Regions from separate parts of the Homo sapiens genome. Here region 1 is linked to region 2. The links are contacts of gene promoters, found by promoter capture Hi-C in blood cells and fetal thymus (Javierre and others, 2016). All regions are on one chromosome and are shown on one strand. Each heading gives the region's core, a stretch centred on a gene start or on the middle of the fragment in contact. The rest is flanking DNA. Distances are from core to core; before and after follow the strand shown. Region 1 overlaps SREK1IP1 (SREK1 interacting protein 1). Region 2 holds the start of KIAA0825.

The links. The method cuts DNA at HindIII sites, captures the fragments that hold promoters and counts their contacts. A CHiCAGO score of 5 or more calls a contact.
Region 1: a contact is called between a fragment that was not itself captured here and the fragment with the promoter of KIAA0825 in region 2, in 5 of 17 cell types (total B cells, total CD4 T cells, naive B cells and 2 more). The highest score is 14.1, in total B cells.

Annotation. Positions count from the first base shown.
Region 1 is chr5:64,763,067-64,767,267 of GRCh38, reverse strand. All of the region lies in intron 1 of SREK1IP1 (SREK1 interacting protein 1), which reads left to right. LOC124900985 (a long non-coding RNA gene) reads left to right here. Exons shown (of 4, transcript XR_007058787.1): 1 at 1-313; 2 at 2,147-2,293. Among named protein-coding and RNA genes, the nearest start is that of SREK1IP1, 3.5 kb to the left of the region's middle. RefSeq lists a silencer at 889-1,028. The HindIII fragment of the contact is 236 bases long and covers 2,651-2,886 here.
Region 2 is chr5:94,617,085-94,621,190 of GRCh38, reverse strand. KIAA0825 reads left to right here and starts at 2,587. Exons shown (of 21, transcript NM_001145678.3): 1 at 2,587-2,691. SLF1 (SMC5/6 complex localization factor 1) reads right to left here and starts at 2,522. Exons shown (of 21, transcript NM_032290.4): 1 at 2,426-2,522. RefSeq lists enhancers at 1,801-1,910, 2,301-2,480, 2,791-2,970, 2,709-3,573. The HindIII fragment of the contact is 3,766 bases long and covers 1-3,250 here.

The DNA.
Region 1 (4,201 bases), core at 1,519-4,018, about 30 Mb after region 2:
AAACACATACAGGATGGGCAGAAGGACTTTCCAAAGGAGGTAGCACTTAGGAGGAGATCTGAATTGTAGGAGGGGTGGCTTGAAGGGAGAGGAGACTGCAGTCGGAGGAACTGGATACGTAAAGGAAGAGGAAATATGTGAAAAGAGGAAATGAAAGATGTTTTCTATGGATGGAACTCAAATACAGATGGGAGATAAGTGAGAAATTAAGTACAGAGGTAGTAGCTGTAGCTAATATTGACTAATATTTATGTGTCAAATATGTCAGAATGAAAGATGTTTTCTGTGGATAGAACTCAAATACAAATGGGAGGTAAGTGAGAAATTAAGTAGATAGTAACTGTAGCTAATATTGACTAATATTTATAAGTCAAATATGTCAGATACTATATCAAACATTGTATTCTATCTCATTTAATATTCACAACTGCACTGTGAAATGAGTATTAATATTCCCATTTTACAGATGAGGACACTGAGGGACAAAGAAATCAAGTAATTTGCCTATTATGAGACAGCTGGAAAGCAAGAAGTCAGTCTGGTTCCTCTAGACTGTGTACTTCATTCATTTTGCCATCGTATAGGATAACTTACAAGGTAGTTTCCAGCTCTTTAAGGACCTGTAGGCCATGACAAGAGGTTTGGCATTATCCTACAGATGGCAGGAAGCCATTTAAGGATTTTAAAGCAGATTCACATTTTGGAAAGATAATTCTGGCTAGAAAGTAGATTGGAGACAAAGTTTACCAGTTAGGAGTAATTCTGGTGAGTTATAATGATGTGTGGCTGAGATGTGGTCTCAATAGGTAAGGAGAGAAGTGGATAAATTGAAGATACATTTTTGGTGGTAGAGTCACTAGGAGTTGGTGATTGATTCAGTGTGGGTAGGTAAAAGAGGAAATGAGGTTTACCTGGGTTTTACTGTTAAGCAATTGGGTGGGGCTGTTTACTGACATGACAACACCTCACAAGGGGCAGGGGTTAAGGGGATGATGATGACATCCAGTCTGGGGCTTGTTGTGTTGAGGTTAGTCAGACATAGGAATGCAAATAGTTAATAGTAAGAGATATAATTTGTAGCTTAGGAAAGAAGTCAGAGTCAAAGACAATGATTTGGGTGTTACCCACACACATAATAGGAGGTAAGGCTATGGGAGTGGAGCACTCTGCTTAGATGGTGTGTAGAATGTGAAGGGAAGGTCTGTGGCTGAAGCCTGGTCAACATCTAAGAGGCCAGCAGCGAAAGATAAACCTACACAGTAGATTGCCTAGGCATCCTGATAGGCCGAGTCAGCTCTAGTGATCTTTATACCACACAGCTGCACCCAAAGTTGACCTGTTATCACTGCTCATTTCATTACTTGAGCAAGCCTTTTGGGCACCTGTGTGATATGGGCACACTGGAGGACACAGTGTCATAGTCTGTGCCCTCATAAAACTTTAAGCAGTACATGAAAATGTGCTACTTAAGAAAGGGGACAAAAGTGATTTTTTAAGGCCTCATTAAAATTCTCTTAAACTTAGACCAGTGTTATAGATATGTTAACCTTCTTTCAATTCAAAATAGTGCTTCAAAGTATAATAATGTTAAATTGTGCCATTAAGCTAGATGGCAAGCTATAAACTGTTTAAACCCAGCAATAATTGAGATAATAGGTGTGACAGTGCTGTAAAAGTACAATGCAAGTGTCATTAGAAAATACAGATACAGAAAATCGTAAGATAATTTCTTAGATGATCGATCCAGACAGGGTATTAAAGGAAAATAGGGCTAATCTAAACTTTTCAAGGTTATCATCAAGGAGGACAAGTATTATGTTAGGCTCTTTAATTTTAGGTTTAATGGATTCAGTTTGGCATTTCTTGGGGTGGTCCTGCTAGTGATTATGACAAGGTATGATTATAAAGTAACAAGGCTGCTTTCTGCAAACCACACATAAAAATCAGCCTTGTCTGTTTTATGATCATGTGCTTCACCCGTGTTTCCATAGCATTGTGTATAAGCGTATACCATTATGTAGGTAATGCAATGAAATGTAGGCATTTAGGAAAATCTTACTCTTAGTTGTTATTATAGAAATAATATTTGATCACAGGTTTCAGTGAAATTTACTTTCTTTGAAAAAACTGCTTTTCCCATTCACAGTTGTTGAAATTACCTCCAACATTCATGTCAGTGATTCACCACTCTCCATGAAGAGCTGAACTGGCACAAGTGGCAACGTATGTTACTGATGTAATTGGCACAAAACTGTTTTCTTATTATCTCCTTCACTGAAGCCCTATAGCCAAGGTAGGGAATTTTTCTGTGGCCAAGCTAACATTTCAGTCTGGCACATCACAGTGAATAAGATTTTTAAAACACATTATGATAGTATCTTAGTAATAGAAGAATTCTCAATTACATCCAATTTTTCTTTATTCCTAAACTAGACTATAGGTAATTTGTTTTCTCTCTAGTCTATATTGCACATTGCTGCTAAAATAATTTTCCTGAATCATATATCTGATCCTATCATTGGTGGGAGGCATGAACTTAGTTCTTGACCCCTATCTGTGAATTTTGTAGTTCTCTTCAAGCCACTTAACCTTTTGGAGGTTCAGTTTTTGTGTCTCCATAATGGAGTTGAAGGCTAAGGTTTCTTAAGCTTCTAAAGTGTTAAAAATGCCAAGTCTCCCCATCTCTCTCTGCGAGAATGCAGTGCACACTCCCAAGCATGACCAAATCACTCTTTCTACTCTTTCCTTCCACCACTCCCCTCATGCATTCTACAATCCTGCAAAAATCTGACTTGGCCAATTATTCTGTGAACCTCTCAAGTGCTTTCCTACCTACGAGCCTTTGTTATTACCTCCTATATTGCCTGTAACTACCTATGGGAAGCTTTCCTGATCTCTTGGCTGAAACTCTTCCCTGCCACTTCTTCATGCTTATTAAATAGAGCTCTGTGTCTTTTATGGAACCTGGCACATTCTATCATGGATTACAGCTGTGGTTGCATTACCATAGATAAACTAGTATAGTGTCGCTTCCCATGGGCTGCATGCAGCTCAGGACGACTGAATGCAGCCCAACACAGACTCGTAAACTTTCTTAAAACATTATGAGTTTTTTTGTGATTTTTTTTTTAAAGCTCATCAGCTATTATTAGTGTTAGTGTATTTCAGTGTATTCTATAGTTTATGCCCTCATAAAACTTTAAGCAATACATGAAAATACTACTTAAGAAAGGGGACAAAAGTGATTTTTAAGCCCTTATTAAAATTCTCTTAAACTCACACCACTGTTATGTTAACCTTCTTTCAATTCAAAATAATGCTTCAAAGTATAATAATGTTAAATTGTGCCATTAAGTTGGATGGCAAGGTATAGATAAACTGTTTAAACCCAGCAAAAATTGAGATAATAGGTGTGACAGTGCTGTAAAAGTACAGTGCAAGTGTGGCCCAAAACAGTGTGGCCCAGCAAAGCCAGAAGATTGGATATCCCTGTAGGGGCTTGATTCATCCCTATGGCTTCTCTAACATCGAGTTCAAAGTTATACCCATCATAGGTAAATAATGAATAATTAGAGGGTTGATTACTATAACTGCTGCTGAGCAGAAATAGTACTAAACAGATTAAGCTAATACAGTCTTCATTCTGTTTCATTAGGTAATTAAATTTCTGTCTCTTCTTAAACAAATTTCTCTGTCTCTTCTATTTTTTTTTTCTTTTTTTGGGGGAGGGGGTGACGGAGTCTCGCTCTGTCGCCCAGGCTGGAGTGCAGTGGCACTGTCTCGGCTCACTGCAGCCTCCGCCTCCCGGGTTCAAGTGATTCTTCTGCCTCAGCCTCCCAAGTAACTGGGACTACAGGCACATGCCACTATACCCGGGTAATTTTTTGTATTTTTAGTAGAGGCAGGTTTCACCATGTTAGCCAGGATGGTCTAGATCTCCTGACCCTGTGACCCGCCTGCCTCAGCCTCCCAAAGTTCTGGGATTACAGGCATGAGCCACCGCGCCCAGCCTCTCTGTCTCTTCTTACACCTTTTTTCTTCACGGATTAATTGTACTTTGTGAGGCATGTAGACTAAAGAGTTTTATACATTTCATATCAGTATAAATCTCATATCAGTAAACAGCTCTTTGATTGGTTTGCTAGTTCTCCTTTTGGAGTCAAATGATTATGAAGCCTTTTTTTAATTTTTATTTGTTTAT
Region 2 (4,106 bases), core at 1,338-3,837:
ATTTCATAAAGCAATCTACTTTCAGCTAACACAAAAGAAAGATACATTAAGTGAAAGAACAGTACAAGGGTGGGAAGACATTTAGAACAGCAATATCACTGAAAAAATTTAAACATAATTATAAATTATTTTCAGTAAAATAACAGTGCCTAAAATTTCAAAGCATTTCTAGAAACAATCTAAAGAGTGCTCTTTTTGTCTAATGAGAAACAAAGTTTTCATTATTTTCCTCTCAAAAGTGATTTGGTATCAATCATTAGAGTGATTCATATGAGAAAGTCTTTCTTCCTCCTCAAAAATAACCAGACAGTGTATTTTAAATTTCAAAGTAATTTTGATAGAAAGTATGAATTAAGTGAACTTAAAAGTTCCAGGGTTATTTTACTTTTAAGCAGTAACATGCCCTTATAAGGTGAAAAACAGTACATAGTACATTATACAGATATATTTTCTATTAGTATATTCAAAGAGTCAACTACAAGAGTAACAGATGATGTCTCATTTTAGTTACATTCTTGAGAGAATTCGTTTTGTTTAGGGTTTATTATTCAAAGCCAACACAGAATTTTTTATTTTACTTTCTAAAAAAGTTTTATTTAAATGGTGAAAACCCTACTTTAGGGTAATATAATCAAGATACATATAATAAGGAAAGTACTAATAAATAAAAGCTATACTATTGGTTTCCCAAAACGCAATGTTTTTGAACATCAGTGGAAAATGTGGATGCTTATTACGAAATCTTCAGTTCTGAATTTTGATTATGAAAAGTAACCACATTTGATCATCTTTTCAATGACTTTCACGTGATCCACGCTTTATGCTTTAGGGAAGCAAGAAAATGTTAGGTTATATAATTCAATTTTACTTAATAACGCATAATAAAATCTGGATTTAGAAAACAGAATAGGGGTTTATTTGCAGTACTGAAGGTTCGCTGTCTTTACAATAAAATTGACTTAAACATTCAAGTATTTGAACATCCTAGTTCCTTTAAATTAAGAATACTCAAGAGTTACCCGGTGGCTCACGCCTGTAATCCCAGCACTTTGGGAGGCCGAGGCGAGCGGAACACTTGAGATCAGGAGTTCGAGACCAGCCTGGACAGCATGGTGAAACCCTGTCTCTATTAAAAATACAAAACATTAGTCGGGCGTGGTGTCGCGCACCTGTAATCCCAGCTACTCGGGAGGCTGAGATAGGAGAATTGCTTGAACCTGGGAGCCGGAGGTTGCAGTGAGCCGATAGGCACTGCACTCCAGCCTGGGCAACAGAGCAAGGCTCTGTCAAAGAAAGAAAGAAAGCAAAGGAAGGAAGGAAAGGTAAGAAAAGAAAATAAAGAAATATACTCTTTAATATAAATTCACCTCATACTAGCAACTTAGGTATTGAACACCTGCAATATACGTAATCAAACTTTCCAATAATGAGAACATCTTGCACATCCACAGGTATTTCCAAGAATTGAGGCACAACGGAATAACATAAACCAAAAAGTCCACAAGGTGCATTGTCTGTCACACATACATTGTAAATTCAGTTCAAATGTTCATTCCCAATATTTCAACAACAACAACAAAATTTTTTAATAAAGTCATTCGTCAAAAAAGAGGCTGGCGCCTCCAAAATCAAGCTCCATCTAACTCCTGAGTCAAATAATGATATGAAGTACCCGAGACGGACCAATTTTTTTTTTGTCAATATTTAATCTGAGGCTTTGGAAGTGGAAGAAATCTTAAAATAGCCACTCAGTCTTGTTTCCAGCCTTCAGGCAGCTGAAATATAAACCCCAGGAACACAGACCCTCCCTTCAGCGAAAAGTGTATGTGTGTATGTTTGTGTTTAAAGGCCTATAGCAGTCAGAGATAGGATCACTGCCGTTTTAGCAGTTTAAAAAAAAAAAATTCTACTAGAGAGGAAAGAATGACACAATTTTCTTCGTCACAGGAAAGTGGGCCTGGGGTATCCCAGCCACCTTCGCAGACGCTAAGTTATGGAAAGCAGCCAAAATTCTGGTATCAGGATGAGGCGTCCCCATGGGTTCTATGGAAACGAGAGACGCGGGGGGCCTAGCGCCTTCCAGGCGGCGGGCCGAGCGGCAGAGCTGCGCAAGCAGAAGCGGGGGAAGTGGCTCAGCCCAGTACTGCAGAGGGGCGCTCGGTGGCAGTCCCCGCAGCGGCACGGGCGAAGCGTCGCGGGGTCTGCAGCTGCAGCCCACCAACTCCGGCGCCGAGCGCGAAGTCGGGAGAGCTGGAACGAACTGCAGCTGGAGAAAGCGCGAGAGCCAGACACCGCTGCCGCTCACCCCAGCCGCTTCCTTCCTAGCCTCACAGCCGGGAGGCAGAAACTTCGGAGGTACCGCCCGGCGAAGAAACATCCCCACAGAGACAGAATACACTGTGTCTTCCTAGCTGAGCCCCTTTACCTTCCCGGTGTCTGGGATGCTTCCTTCGGTGGCAGCGGCGGCAGGGGCGACGACTGCCGCTGCAGCACTCAACTGCTTCACGAATCCGGGCTCTGGGAAACAATTTCCCGCCGCGCGCTAGGCAGCCCCGGAAGCGATAGTACCATTTCCGGGTGGTTGTCAGTGACGCTCCGGAGCCGTCGCCAGGGTGGTAATACCTGGTGCAGAGCTTGAGTCTGGCCAGCGGGTCAGGCTCTTGCTAGATCAGCACCGGAGGTGGAAGACTGGTAAGTGATTTTACTGGGTTTTCTCCTGCGCCTGATATTAATGGCTGGCCGGGGCTCTGTGCAGCATTATGGCCAGCCCGAGAAGTGAGTGGGCGAGGGTGGAACCAGAAGGAGTCCCCATCAAACCCCGTGGCGCTTGACACCCAGTGCAGCTGGAGAAGGCCCTGGGATCCCGGCTTACCGTCTTATCCACTCGCAAAATCTGTCTCCGACTTGGAACTCGACCTCGGGTCACCAAGTGTCCCTGGGCGAGGCCGAAGACACCGTGTACCGTGACTCGGCGTTGTGCCGAGTTTCTCTACCAATGATCAACGAGTTTCCTATCTCCCATTGGCAGCGTTTGGCCACTCTTGATTCCTGAGTACTGTTTCCGTAGTTCTGGGGTGCCGTGCCTGGAAGGCAGGAGGTTGGCTGAAGAAGACATCTTTTACAAACATTTAGGAAGTGAGATGGGGAGGTTCCTTCCTGATTTAGAATTAATTGAAGGTTCCTCCCGCCATTTGAATTGGATGAGAAGAACGGTCTTTGTTTTCATGGCTGAGACATAAGAGAACAAGCTTGTAATTTCATGCTTGGGCATTAGATGCATTTTTGGAAAGCAGTGATCAGTAAGTATGTGTGCTTTCAGAAAGGAATGCTTGCGTTCTGCTCCAGGCTTTGTCGATAATGAAGGATTCAGGAGAATTTTGGATGGAGGTCTGAGGTAGCCAGAATAGTTGTAAAGAGAAATTGCTTCCGACAAAGGGATAATGTGAGGAAAGGTGCTCATTTAAGATTTGAAAGATGTGATGTAGTGAACCTTGGCGACTTCTCTTAAGTAATGCAATTTCTTAGGTAACTAGTTTTCACTTGCCACCTTATATTTAGATAATTACCTCCCCACCAACCCCCGTAAAAGGCAGCTGACTGTTATTTTTTCAAAACAGTCAGTTCCCGAAAGAGTTGTAGGTACTATTGCATTTTTTTTATGGGTATGCTCCTCATACCCATAAAAACATTTTCTTTATCGGAGCATACCGATAAAGAAAAATGCAATATGTTCAATTCAAGGCCCCTGTTAACACCAGGCCAGTGTCTTCTTAACCTTTTGAGAGTAATGCAACAAACCATATTTAGGACAGCACATTGATTTTCTGGCCTTGTTGGTTAATAATTCAACAAACTTATAATCGCCCCATTAATCCCAATCTTGACATTTTGTTGAATCTTGTATTTTTTCTTTATTTCTCCAGTTGAAAGTATTATAAATTACTTCAGGGATATTATGTATTATATCTGTACAGCAACTAGTTTTTAGAGGCAGTGATTTCTCTCTTTGAATTGCTCTTGAATGTAGCCAATCATTAATACTTACCCCAAGTAGATACTGTCTGCCAGGCACTTTACATTTATTATTTTATTTAATGTTTAATAAA